Linked DNA regions of Homo sapiens: regions 1, 2, 4 and 5 are each linked to region 3. The links are contacts of gene promoters, found by promoter capture Hi-C in human tissues and cell types (Jung and others, 2019). All regions are on one chromosome and are shown on one strand. Each heading gives the region's core, a stretch centred on a gene start or on the middle of the fragment in contact. The rest is flanking DNA. Distances are from core to core; before and after follow the strand shown.

Region 1 (2,700 bases), core at 48-2,547, 710 kb after region 3:
AAAAAAAAAAACAAAAACCTGGCCTACCCAAAAGAAAAATAAAATCTACAGACACTGATATATTGGACTCCCTCCGTGAAGCAGGCAAGTCACCACCTAGGGCTCCCACAAAGAGGTCAACCAGTCAACAAGATCAATCCAGACATAAATCACTGAGTCTGCTTTTCAGTGCCTCACTTCAAAATTCAAATGGGCATCCAAGCAACACCATGTACATGTATCTATAGATTTTAATACATATACATATGTATTTCAGACAGGGTCTCACTCTGTCACCCAGGCTGGAGTGCAGTGGCACAATCACAGTTCACCGTAACCTCTGCCCACTGGATTCAAGTGATCCTCCCACCTCAGCCTCCCAAGTAGCTGGGACTACAGGTGAGCGCCATCACACCCACCTAATTTTTTTTTTTTTTTTTTTTTGTAGAGACCGGGTTTCGTCCTGTTGCCCAGGCTGGTCTTGAACTCCTGAGCTCAAGTAATCTGCCCACCTCAGCCTTCCAAAGTGCTGGGATTACAGGCATGAGCCACCATGCCCAGCCAACATCACCATGTTTTTTACCAAAACCTCTTAACATTAAATTCAGAGATGAAAAACAGTAGGAAAAAGCAACTTGGAAGAAACAAAGATATTACAAAAAAAATAAAAAATGCTAAACATCTTCAGAGAGATAGAACATTCATGAATAAAATGTCTAAGAAGGAACATTCAAAGGACAACAAATCACTTTTTGAAAGTTCAAAAGACAGTTTGGAAGATGATGGTGAGAACTTTTCCAGAAAGTAGAACAGAGGAAAAAGAGATGAATAATGGAAGACTAAAATATTAAAAGAAAAAGTAAAGATACAACACCCAAATAATAATTTTAGAAAATAACAGTAACAAAAATTAAAAATAAAAAAGGAAAGTAACATAGAAATTTTCCAAGAAAATGTTCCCAAACCTAAGAAAACTAGCTTCAAGAATCCAACAATTACCCAGCTCAGTGAGTGAGGAAAGTCCCATATTTATTTCTATCATCATGAAATTTCAAATTTTAAAAACTTTCCAGAGGGTTAAATGTTTTTAAAAGGTTTATAGTAGCATCATCACACATCATAACAGTTATGCTGGAAATTGAAGACAATAAATACATTTCTTCAAAATACTAATGCAAAAGTACTTCTTTCCAACCAAGAATTCCATAGCTAGTTAAAATTATTGCTCAGTTGTGAAATATAGAATAAATATACTTCCAAATTGGCAACATCTCAAAAACTGACTCTCTGATCCCCTTTCTCCAGAAAAAGGGAAGCTTTTTTATTTTTTTCTTTTTCTCTGGAGAGAGTCCATGTCTGGCTGGGAGTGAAAGCACCATAGGGAAAAAGGGAGAGAGGGGGTAAGAGTTTAGAAAGATTGAATCCTAGTATTATCGTTTGAGCCCTGGACACAGAAGTTAAAGTGTGGGCACAATATCTGCACTGAAGTCTCTGGTTCACCATCAATTGCAACCTCTGGTAGTGAAAGTGCATCTCCCATTCTGCCTCTTTCATGAATTTTCTTGAGTTAATATCCCTCCTTTCTGACCACCAGTTATTTTCATGTATGATATTAATCTAAGGTCTCACTTCTTTGCAATGTAGATTTTAAGTTTCTCTCCTATGTATAAGCCTGTCCTTCCCAATGGGTTAAAGCCACTCTCGGATCCGAGCAGCAAGAGCTCTCCTGAATTCACCTCTTTCCCTCACACCCAATTGGCCACCGCGTTGATTCCTTTCTACCTCCTTGCTCTTCCCACCTTCTCTTACCTGAATTCTGACTAATTTCCTTGTTTTTGGTGTCCCTTCTCTAGAATCAATTCCCTACACAACTGCTGGAGAGATTATTCTAAAATACCAGTGTGATAGTGATCCTTTTCCCTGCTTGAAACGCTTTGTTCACTCCAAGCCAGAAGGATAAAATCCAACATCCTTAAAACTTTATGCAAGATTCAGCCCTGGACTACCTCCCACCTACATTCATCTGAAGCCACTTAGAGCTATTTCACTCCCCTATGACTCTGAAAATGCTCAGCCTGGCATCCTCCACCCTTTCCCACCTGTATGGTGTAGCTGTGTCGCCACCCAAATCTCATCTTGAATTGTAGCTCCCAAAATTCCCATGTTGTGGGAGGGTCCCAGTGGGAGGTAACTGAGTCATGGGGGCAGGTCTTTTCCATGCAGTTCTCATGATAGTGAAGAAGTCTCATGAGATCTGATGGTTTTATAAGGGGAAGTTTCCCTGCCCAAGTTCTCCCTTTGCCTGCTGCCATCCACGTAAGACATGACTTGCTCTTCCTTGCCTTCTGCCATGATTGTGAGGCCCCCAAGACATGTAGAACTGTGAGTCCATTAAACCTCTTTCCTGTATAAATTACCCAGTCTTGGGTATGTCTTTATTAGCAGCATGAAAACAGACTAATACACCACCTGTTGTGAACAGTCTGACAAATTCCCACTCATCCTTCTAGATCCAGCACAAATAAGTCCTGCTTTGTGAAACATTCCCTAGAAGTCACCCCTTTTCCATATATGTTGCCTACTCCCTCCTTTATACCATGTGTCCTCTATGATGGCACCTACCATGTGTCCTACAAGCTCTTGGTACATATTGGCTTCCCATACTAGAGAATGAGTTCAGTTATGTGTTCCAAAATTGAGGTGGCATCTGTCCTTGGTAGG
Region 2 (2,700 bases), core at 143-2,642, 650 kb after region 3:
TGAACCCATTGCTAACCCCCCAGTTCCTCCACTTACTCAATGGCACTTACCACTGTCTAACTTGTGTTCTTTGGAGACCCATTTTATTATAGTTCAATGAATATGACTAAACCCCAACACAGATCGAGACAACTAATGGTCAATTATTAAGTGAAAAAATAAATATTAGGTGAGAAAACAAAATATGCGTATGTCAAAGACAACCAGGGAATTTTCTTAAGCCATCACTGTAACCATGATTCTAAATCAGGGATTGCAAATGTGTAGCATGTGTGCCATCCTGCATAACTCCAAAATCCATGGCAGACATTACCAATCAACCATGCCTCTCTCTCTCTCTCTGTGTGAACTCCAGCATAACCATGCCTCTAAATCAGGGATTGCAAATATGTAGCATGTGTACTGTCCTGCGTAGCTCCCACACTCATGGCAGACATTACCAATCAATCATGACTTCCTGCCTCCCCAGTCCCTGGCACAATCCAGAAGCCCTCCAACACAGAGCTCTTGGCAGACACTACTAAGCAATTTGGATTACCATGAGATGAAACCCATTGCTTTGCCAGCTTTCCTCCAGTCAGAATTGCTTACTCCTGTTATTTTATATAACTTATTCTAGTCTTCCCTTATTCCTGCTGGCTTCCAGACTTAACGTTTATCCTGGCCTCAACATTTGAACCTAGCACTAGGCATTGCTTCCCATACAACAAGCTCTGCTAGGCACTGACCACAGCTGGGGCCTTTCACTCACCCAAACTGCCTTGGGTAAACTGGCCACTAAGTTCAACCCATGTATAGGACCCCTGCCCTTCCTTTGACACTGTTCCTAGCCCAATTAAAGAAACTCCCATTACGTGCCCATCCAAGAAGCAAGAAACAGACACTTAGGTCAGGATGGTCAAATACATATTGTATAAACGGCCTCTACCCCTTTGCAAGCCCATGGCAAACACTGCTGGTTGACTAACGTCATCTCTTACATGAATGCAGAGGCATCCTCAGAAGTTTTCTTAGCATTAAGACCCCAGACAACCATTAAAAACCAATCTAATTTGCATTTGAGACAAAATTTGCCAGTCATTCTACATAAACCAATGGAAACTCTAGTTCCAAAATCATATAGCCCAGTAGAGTGAATTAGGTTGCAAAGAACCCTCTTGATCCCTGGGAGATTCTTAGGATAAACATAGAATCCAAATGAACCACAGGAGGGTCACAGAAAAGAAGACTAAGGACCCAGCAGAGACCGCTGCCTGATGTACCAAGCACCAACACTGTGGCAGCCTGGAAATGTGGTCCTGATTCAGAGGTCCTGGGTACTGCAAACCTTCTCAAATCCACTTCCTGCTTTACACTGAGGAAATCTTACAAAAATAAAAATTACAATCTGTCACATTACATTACCTCAAAGCATGATGTAACATCATAATTTTTTAAAGCATATGTTTTAATTTATGATGTTGTGTGATGCCACAAAAAGCTTGATTTTCCCTTGAGTACCAATAAATTTTGACAGTGATGGTTTATCCCAAAACTTTGGCAGACTGAAACACAAGGAAGGTTGGCCAAAGATAGGTAGTTAGCCACCACTGAAGAAATGCTTATGAGTCAGTCACCAGGACATCAACCTGTCCTTGTCCTTCAAAAGCTCAAACTCTATAGTCCTGTGCTGTCCAATATGGTAGTCACCATGGCCAGTGAGGATCTGACAGGTGACTAGTCCAAAAATCTAGAAACACTGCAAGTACAGAATATACATCAGATTTGAAAGGCTTAGTACATAAAATATATAATATTTTGTTAATATTTTTTTTTTGAGATGGAGTCTCATTCTGTCACCCAGGATGGAGTGCAGTGGTGCAATCTTAGCTCATTGCAACCTCCCAGGTTCAAGCAACTCTGCTGCCTCAGCCTCCTGAGTAGCTGGGATTACAGGTGCACACCACCATGCACAGCTAATTGTTCTGTGTATTTTTAGTAGAGACCGAGTTTCACCATGTTGGCCAGGCTGGTCTCAAACTCCTGACCTCAGGTAACCCACCCGCCTTGGCCTTCCAAAGTGCTGGGATTACAGGCATGAGCCACCACACCCGGCCTTCAGTATTTCTTTATAGCAATGCAAGAATGGACTAATACAAGGTGGAAGATGACACTAGAAGGGGGAATGAGCATATTTTGATCTTATATGGCAGTAGTCAGCAAACTAGGACCGGTGGGCCACATCTGCCTGGTTTTATAAGTAAAGTTTTATTGGAACAGAGCCACACCCATTCGTTTATGCCTTGTTCATGGCTGCTTTCAAACAACAGGGCTGAGGTGTAGCAACAGAGATGTTGTGGTCAAGAAGTTCAGAGATTGGCAGATTAATTCCCATAGTGTCAACCAAACCAAGTCCTAAATGCCTAGCATGGTGTCCTTCATCTTAAAGACAGAAAAGTGGGAGTTTATGGGGATTTTTGGAGAGGATGGTTTTTTTTTTTTTGACAGAGTCTTGCTCTGTCGCCCAGGCTGGAGTGCAGTGGTACGATCCCATCTCACTACAACCTCCACCTTCGGGGTTCAAGTGATTCTCCTGCCTCGGCCTCCCGAGTAGCTGGGATTACAGGCATGCACCAAAATGCCCAGCTAATTTTTGTATTTTTAGTAGAGACAGGGTTTCACCATGTTGGTAGGCTGGTCTCGAACTCCTAAACTCAAGTG
Region 3 (2,700 bases), core at 184-2,683:
CCCGAGTGTTAGGTATGCCTCACACTTCAGCGCCCCAAGCCCCAGTGAGAGGAGACGCTATCCCTGGAGGCCAAAAGCCACTGGCACTGACCACGCAGAGGGATGCAGGGGTGGAGGGGCTGTCTCCCTACTCCGCACCCCAAATCCTCAATCCGACTTTGGCCCGAGAGGCAAGAAACAGACTGGAAGAAAGTTAGGGGTGGGGTAGAGGGTGGAGGAAAGAAAGTTTAAGGAGGAAAGGCTTGGTGGGATAGCTCACCCCAACCCAACCGGAGCTTGGAAGGGGAGGATTTGGGAGACCAGAGAAGGCGAGAGAGGACGGGGTTATTAGAAGGGCACCCGGCGCAAACTCCCCCGAAAGCTTAAGTGGGTGGTGCCCCCGGGCACCCAGGGGCAAGGAGGGCGGGCGAGGAGCTCGGCGCACAGGGCAGCCCCGAAGCGGAGCCGTTTCTCTTACCTGCCGCCCGCTTGGGTGCCTGCTGTTTTCTCCTCGGCATCCTCTACTTCGCTCCAGTCCCACTTCTGGCGCCCCAGCCCCGAGCCGCGCGCTGGGGCCCGCTGTCTCTCTGGCCTCTCTGGGTCTCCTCCGCCTCTTGCCCGGTGGCTCCTAGGACGTCACTCGGCCTCTGTCCCCCTGACGATCCCCCCTGCAACTCCTCCACCACGGGCCAGAGACCCCCCTCTCTGGGTGGCAGACACGGGTGGCTTGTGCCGGCTGCTTTGAAGTAGAGGTTGGTTCTGCCTTGTTTGTTTGTTTGTTTATTTTGAATTTTTTTTCCTCTCTCTTTTTTGTTTTTGCTTTTGGAATTTTTTTGGTTTTGTTTTTGCGGTTTTTTTTTTTTTTGGTGACTGTTGAGACACTTGATTTCTTTATTAAACATCCAAGCCCGGGTTCGGATGGAAGGGACGAGGGGCGCACACGCGCCACAGGCACACTCGCGCGTAAAGATAAGGAAAAAAAAAAGGCAATCCTGGGAAGGTAGTGGGTTTCTTCTTTTTCTTCTTCTTCCTTCTCCTCTTTCCCTCCTCCTCCTCCTCCTCCACCTCCTCCTCCACCTCCTCCTTCTTTTCTTCCTCCTCCTCCTCCTCCTCCTCGCCGATCTCTATGGCGGATTCGTGCCGGGGGGAGAGCGATCACTCACTGTAGGTTTGTGGCTGCTGTCAGATCCCCGTCTGTGAGTGATATGCGAGAGGACAGGAGCGGGTTTTGGAAAGACAGAAAATCTGGAATTCACTCACTCACACACACACACAGACACACACACAGACACTCACACACGCACTCACACGCGCACGCACCCCCGCTTCCTCGCACACACACACTCACACCCCCCACATATGCACACACACACAAACACACACACACACCCTCGCACACACACACAAGACAGGGCGAGGCGATGCCAGCAAACATCGATCCCGCTGAACAAACTGAACATTAACAAACTCCTCCTCCTCCTCCTCTCCCCGCGACCTGATGACAGGGAGAAATTTACTCCCCAGCCGCAGAGCGCCAGGCAGCGGGAGCCTATTAAAGGGACAGCGTCCCGCAGGGGAGAGGGGCTGGGGGCGGGGGCCCCGGCGCGCCGGCCCAGGCCCCTCTGTGCGCCCTCTCCGCCGGGGCGAGGGCGTGCCCACCGGGCGCGGGGACACCCCTCCGGGAGGCGGAAGGGGCGGGGGCGGGAGGAAAGGAGGTGAGGAGGGAAGGGGTGCGGGAGAAAAGGAGGCAGTGTGATGATGGCTGAACTCTGAAGCTGGGAGGCTGTGGAGGGAGATTCAGGGGGGCCAGGTTGGCTGACCAGCAGGGACCATGCACAATCTTAGGAGAGGGAGAACTTAGGTTTGCTCGGGGCTGGGAAGGGGGAGGGGACCTTATCCAGTGAGGATCTCCATCCTGTAAGTCTTAACCTGCCCCCACCAAAATGTGCTCCCCACGACCCCTTCAATTTAGTGCCCCTGTCCCTCCCACTTTCTCGCTAATCAATGGGTGGTCACAAAAACAAAAATCTCCCTTCTGTCTACTTTAAGGTCTAATCATATACTCCTCTTTTTGTTTCCTTTGAAGAATGTTTATTGAGCATCTACTATGTGCCTATTCTGGAGACACAGAGGCCACAGAGAAAGGGAAGGTGGTGGCCATGTTGGTATTTATATTCTAATGGGGGAGTGCAGACAAGTGCCCCCCAGCTATCCAATCTTTGCTTAAATGTCCCCTTTTCCCAAAGGTCTACCTCACCTAAAATACACACACACACACACACACACACTCCCTGCCCCATTTCTCCATTTTGTTATTCCCCAGTGAGCTGATCAGTGAGTGTCACACAGGTTATAGACAGTTTTCTATTCTGTTGATTGTACAAGTTCCCCTCTTGAATGTAAGCTCCAATGGAAGGAAGGATTTTTGCCTCTTTGTTCTCTTATATCCCCAAGTGCTGGCAAAGCACAAGACATATAATAAGTGCCCAGTAAAATATTTGTTGAATGAATGAAAAGTAAGCAAGCAAATAAACAGGATACTTTGAGTGATTCGCTCCATGAAGACGTTAAGCTGAGTGCTGTAATAGTGTCTAAAAGGGGGTGGGTGGCTCTAGATTCAATGTAGGATATGGCATTTGAGCACAGAGAGATTGAAACAAACATGTGATTATTGAGTTCTGCTATCGGCCAGGCACCTTTTGAGGTGTTGGGGGCAAGTCT
Region 4 (2,700 bases), core at 194-2,693, 960 kb before region 3:
CACCATCGCACTCCAGCCTGGGGGACAAGAGCGAGACTTTGTTCCAAAAAAAAAAAAGAAAAATCTGTGATCTGTGTCTTAGGGTTTTCTCGGGAACCTCTATCCCATGACAAGGAGCTGAATAGAAGGACATTAATATGGGTGCTAGTTTTAAAGGTACTGGAAGAGTTGAAAAGACAACCATGGGGCCGTGAGGCCCACCCGGAGATTAGAAATAGAACATGGCACATGTATACCTATGTAACTAACCTGCACATTGTGCACATGTACCCTAAAACTTAAAGTATAATTTAAAAAAAAAAAGAAAGAAAGAAATAGAAATAGGCTACAAAAAGAACCACCACTAGAGACACACAGCCAAAGGGAAGAGGTGATGCTTCTGGAGCTAGGGAACCCGGCACCCTGTGGGAAATAGAACCCCATGTGGATGGGGGTGAGGCTGCTTGAGGGTAGCTGGAACCCAATGGAGGCTTCTGCAAGCAGTACCTTTTTGTTGACTGGAGGGAGGAGGCAGGAAAAATACGTGTCAGTGCCGCCCACTGGCTGAACTTAACCAGAAGCCAGTTGGTAATGGAACCTGGGAAATGCAGTTTGAAGAGAAGCTTGGAAAAATGATCTGAGAGTAAACATACAAATACCTAGCACAGTTGGTGGCTTTAAGAGGAGAAAAAAGGGAAGGGAAGGGGAGGGGAGGGGAGGAGAAGGGAGGGGAGGGAAGGGAAGGGAAGGGAAGGGAAGGGAAGTGAAGGGAAGGGGCAACCTTGATTAGTGTCCCACCCCCTTCCCTGGCTCTAAATAAATGAACATGTATGCTATGGTCATGCTGACATCCTTGTCTCCTCCTTTATCTTCAGAAGAGAGCAGTAGCTATGAACACAGGCTCTGGGTCCAAACAGCCTTGGTTGCAATCCCAGTGGTGCTACTTGCTAGCCACGTGGCTTTGAGCAGGTTCCTTAACTTCTTCCAGCTTCACTTTCACATCCATAAAGTGGAGACACTAGTAGAATCCACCTCACTGAGTTGCTGTGGGGATTTAACGATGTATTCCATGCAAAGCACAAAATGAGTGTCTAAGAAATGTTCATGCTTATGGAAACAGACTGTTCTTTGAGTTTCAATCAGCTTATTCAAGTTCCTGCTAAAACATGTTTCTTCTCCTCTTTACCACTCACACCTCCAACTTCAATGTCTAGAATCTACCCCTTGTCTCTACTTCACAGTCTTTAAAGTAAATAAATAAATAAATCTTTCTATTTTCATAGAGGTTCTGTGAGAACTGAGGAGAAACAGCCTTTCTCCTCCCCTCTGGGCTCACAACCCTCTCTCCGCATCCCCTGCCCCCTCCCTATCTTTGCTGGCCAGTTGTTCACAAGTAGCTTAACAGTTTTGAGAATACAAAAACAGGAAATTATGCCCCAGCCCTAAGACTAAAAAACTCATGTGCAAATCCTTCAGTGGACAGATTTCTTCAGCTTTCAAAAACTAAGGCCTTGAAAAATCAGGTCCCATGGCCAAATTTTCTGGATTTGCTTAATCATTTCCTTTGCAAATTTATAACCTCTTTAACCATGAAGAGAGATGGTGAGAAAGGGGGAGGCGGGAGTTGAAAATGTTTTAAGTTAACCGCAAGACAGGACAGGAAATTCTGGAGGGGTGTGCATTTCTCTTTAATCCCTTAGTGGCAGAGAGGCCTAAGATAGCAGCTCTGGAAAACTATTTATTGTCCCAGAAATGACCGTTCTGGGATATTGTTTTGCTGTTGATATTGACCCAGAGGAAAATGTGGCAGCCTTCTTCATTCAGTGGCTTAACAGAGAATAGAAGAGCAGGGAAGGCTCTGAGACACCCCGGTCTGATCCTTTACTTGACTCATGCAACAGACACTTATTGAGTGGCTGCCCTGCCCTCCAATGGATAGAGAGGACTGAGACAGCCTCCCAAAGAGGTGAAATAACTTCCTCGCTTTTTCAATGCCATTTGAAAAGTTAAGGAATCTACTGGGGGCTGTCTACTAGAAGAATCTAAAATAGGTGATCCAAAGCTGTTTTATTATTAAAATTCCTGAAAGACAAAAAGAAGTGACTTTTTTTTTTTTTTTTTTGCCCTTCCTTCTCACTTTCTGAGTTTTTCTTGGCTAATCGGAGTTATGTACTTTTTTTAACCTTTAAGGTAAGTTCCTGTCTTTAGCAGTGGTTTTTATTTGAAGCCAGGGCCCAACCCACTTATGTTGATCCAGCAAATGAAATGGAATGGAACAGAATGGAATAGAATAGAATACAACAGAAAGCTCATGGTGCATCACGGGTAATATGGTTAACATCCATTAGTGGAAGGTTTGTTTTGATTACTAATGTATGTGTATAGACTCAAAATGTATTTCTTATTATGATTTGTAATAAGAAAACTTTAAAAGCCTCTGATCTTTAATATAGTTCAGCAGCGAAAGGTGTGGGATCTAGAGTCTACTGGCATGAGTTTGAATGTCAGCCTGTCACTCTGACCGGCTGTTTGATGTTGGACAAGCTGATTATCCTCTCTGAACCTCACTTACTTAAGGGAAATACAACACAATAAAGAGAGATATAAAGTGAATATTGGATATCACAGTGTCTGAATTTCTGGGGTCATTTATCTGCAGAAAATGCCATCCTGCCCCCTATATCTTTCCTTTGGCCCAGCGTTCTGCCAGTTGTCTAGGGT
Region 5 (2,700 bases), core at 14-2,513, 780 kb after region 3:
GGCCAGGAATTCGAGACCAGCCTGGGCAACATCTCTACAAAAATAAAAATTAAAAAGTGAGCCAGGGTGGTGGCCCACGCCTGTAGGGGGGATTGCTTGAGCCCAGGAGTTGGAGGCTGCAATGAGCTAGGATCCGACCACTCTTCCAGCCTGAGAGACAGAGAAAGACCCCCTCTCTAAAAAAAGAAAGGGAGAAAGAGAGAGAGGCAGAGAGAGAGAAAGAAAGAAAAGAAAAGAAAAGAAAAGAAAAGAAAAGAAAAGAAAAGAAAAGAAAAGAAAAGAAAAGAAAAAGAAAAAGAAAAAAACAGGAAGGAGACAGGGAGTGGTTGGGGGAGGAGGAGGGGGCTGCAATATTAGAATGATTAGATTAGGCCAAGCATGGCCTCCCTGAGTGTGAATTTGAATGCTGACCTTCAGAAGCAGGACAGACTCTATGGGCAAATCCCTCGAGGCTGGGAGAGGTCTGAGGCTTGGGAGGGTCGGCAGAGAGACAATAGGGCTGACGCAGGAGCCCGGGGGAGACAGTAGTAGTAAGACATGAGGGACAGAGCAGAGAGGTCACTGTCCTCAGAGTGTGGACGCCGACCAACACTAGGGGCATCACCTGGGAACTTAGAAATGCTCGTTCTCACGCCTCGCCCCAGACCTACTGAAGCAGAAACGCTAGGGTGGGCCCAACAGCGTGTGTTCTAACAAGCCTTTCAGGCGACTGCGATGCACGATAAAGTTGGCAGCTCCTGGAGCAGGGGTCCCTCCGCGCTACGACCCCACCTCTTCGCGGTCCTCTCAGTCTCCCTAGCGGGGCAAGGGACCCGCCCAGCGCTTTGCTGATTTGCCCAGCGCTCACGCCCAACCTGGGTTTCTCCGGAGCTCGCCGCGCCCCGCGCACCCACCCCGCAACGGCAGCCGCACGTGGGTCTCCCCGCAAACCACCCAGGCGTCCCGGGAGCAGCGCTGCTGCACGGCCGCGCTGGGGGCCCAACGCCTGGGGTTGCAGGTGCAAAAGGCGCCCCGAGCCGGGGAGGCCAATCGCGTCCGCGGAGAACGCAGAGTGCGGGCAGGGGCGCATCCCTCGCCACCCGCGGTCGCCCAGCACGCCGGGACGCGCGTGGCCATCCAGCTCCCCGGGGGCGTTGGGGGGCTCCGCGGGCCTGGGCCTCGGGATTCGCCCGCCGCTTCCCCGGGGAGCCGCTGCTGCAAAGCCAGGTTGGGGCGCCGGGCCCGGCCAGCGCCCTCTAGGCAGCGGAAGTGCAGCTTGCTTTACATCCGTCCTCCCCGCCTCGCAGAGTTGGGAGAAGGCAGGGTGGGGGGTGTGGAAAAATAAAAGGAAAAGTCCTTGCACCATGTAGATCAGCGTCCCCCACTTTGGCATCCCGGCCGGCCGGGGACCTCCCAGTCTGCGGCCATGAACGCGAGCAGCGAGGGCGAGAGCTTCGCGGGCTCGGTGCAAAGTAAGTGCTTTTCCGGGAGCAGTGCGCGCTCCGGGGCCCAGTGCGCGCTCCGGGGCCCGGGCCCAAGCACGTCTGCGACGCAGCCAGCAGGCCCGGGGCCCCGAAATCGGGGTGACGGCTCGGAGCCGCGTCTCGGGGACCGCGGCGGGCGCGCTGTGCAGGGGGCGCCGGAGTGGGCTTGGGGTGGGGGCGCACCCGACCTGGCGCAAGACCGGGGGCGCTCTCCAGCCTTGCGAGACCCCTTGGAAGGGAACAGTGGGGGAGGGCACGCCGTTCAGACAATCGCCACCCCCTAAGGGCATTCCCGCCCCATCAGGCGGAGTTTGGGGCGGGCAGGAGAAAGGGAGGAATCTAGGGTAAACGGGGCAACACTGATGGGAAAACTTCTGCCTCAGTGGCTCAAAATTAGAGCCTGGAGATTGGGGGAATCACCAGGTCTCACGAGGTCCTGCCGGCTCATTGCAAAGCCTTTTCCTCATTAAGGGTGGAGATCTGAATGGAAAACGGGGCCGTGGTCGCTTTATTTGGGTTTGGGGTTCAGTTTTTATTTAACCGAGGAGGACATCAGCGTTTTTCAAGTCCCTGGTTTCTCCCGGTGCATTGTTTCCCAAAGTGTGGTCCAGAGACTGAGTGCAACCAGCCACCTGGGAGCGAGAGCGTGTATTTTAAAACAGCTTTCTGGGCCCCACCCATTCAATCTCGGGGGTGGGGCTGGGGATCCGCTGTCCTTCGTAGCTGCCTGGGCAACTCTGAAGCACATGAAGTTTGAGAACCCATCTACCAGGGGTTTGCAGAAAATCTGGCACATAGTAAGCTCCCAGCTTGTTAGCTGCTACTGTTAACAGTTTGGGAGACACTGGGTCCCAAACTTGGCGGTGTATTCCTTGCATTACTGTGAAAAGCACAGATTTTCCTAAACACCATCCTCCCCACCCCACCCTGTTATGACTCAGTATCTCCTAGGTGGGGCTCAGATATGTCCATGTTTAAATAGTGTACCTCAGTAAGAACCCAGCAGGTAACATGCTGGGGGACTGGCGGGGAGGGGGGACTGTGCTGGTACGAGCACCATCCCATTTAATTCTCATAACAAGCCCGTGTTTTTTCTTGGAGAAATTAAAAACAAACAAAAACCATGGATTAGAAACCTCTCCTCCCATTTTTCAGATGAGAAAACCCACGCTTAAAGTCACTGTTGTTAAGCGACAGTGTCAAGATTCTAACGAAGGTCTATGTCGTTACTTTTGCA

Evidence for each region. Contacts are between HindIII fragments. The study calls those that stand out against the background at their distance.
Region 1: a fragment that was not itself captured here is called in contact with the fragment with the promoter of TSHZ2 in region 3 in 1 of the 25 tissues and cell types used here (lymphoblastoid cells).
Region 2: a fragment that was not itself captured here is called in contact with the fragment with the promoter of TSHZ2 in region 3 in 2 of the 25 tissues and cell types used here (dorsolateral prefrontal cortex and mesenchymal stem cells).
Region 4: a contact is called between a fragment that was not itself captured here and the fragment with the promoter of TSHZ2 in region 3, in 1 of the 25 tissues and cell types used here (dorsolateral prefrontal cortex).
Region 5: the fragment with the promoter of ZFP64 here is called in contact with the fragment with the promoter of TSHZ2 in region 3 in 1 of the 25 tissues and cell types used here (heart right ventricle).

Annotation. Positions count from the first base shown.
Region 1 is chr20:52,262,523-52,265,222 of GRCh38, reverse strand. All of the region lies in intron 2 of LOC105372666 (a long non-coding RNA gene), which reads right to left. Among named protein-coding and RNA genes, the nearest start is that of ZFP64, 72 kb to the right of the region's middle. The HindIII fragment of the contact is 6,105 bases long and covers 1-2,700 here.
Region 2 is chr20:52,319,969-52,322,668 of GRCh38, reverse strand. All of the region lies in intron 3 of LOC105372666 (a long non-coding RNA gene), which reads right to left. Among named protein-coding and RNA genes, the nearest start is that of ZFP64, 130 kb to the right of the region's middle. The HindIII fragment of the contact is 6,006 bases long and covers 1-2,700 here.
Region 3 is chr20:52,971,091-52,973,790 of GRCh38, reverse strand. It overlaps TSHZ2 (teashirt zinc finger homeobox 2), which reads right to left and starts at 1,433. Exons shown (of 3, transcript NM_173485.6): 1 at 458-1,433. The coding sequence starts at 497. The HindIII fragment of the contact is 6,451 bases long and covers 1-2,700 here.
Region 4 is chr20:53,933,704-53,936,403 of GRCh38, reverse strand. All of the region lies in intron 1 of BCAS1-AS1 (BCAS1 antisense RNA 1), which reads right to left. Among named protein-coding and RNA genes, the nearest start is that of BCAS1-AS1, 20 kb to the right of the region's middle. RefSeq lists an enhancer at 891-1,392. The HindIII fragment of the contact is 4,234 bases long and covers 1-2,700 here.
Region 5 is chr20:52,190,342-52,193,041 of GRCh38, reverse strand. It overlaps ZFP64 (ZFP64 zinc finger protein), which reads left to right and starts at 1,263. Exons shown (of 6, transcript NM_018197.3): 1 at 1,263-1,451. The coding sequence starts at 1,406. RefSeq lists enhancers at 382-511, 1,552-2,408 and silencers at 922-1,191, 1,552-1,791. The HindIII fragment of the contact is 31,514 bases long and covers 1-2,700 here.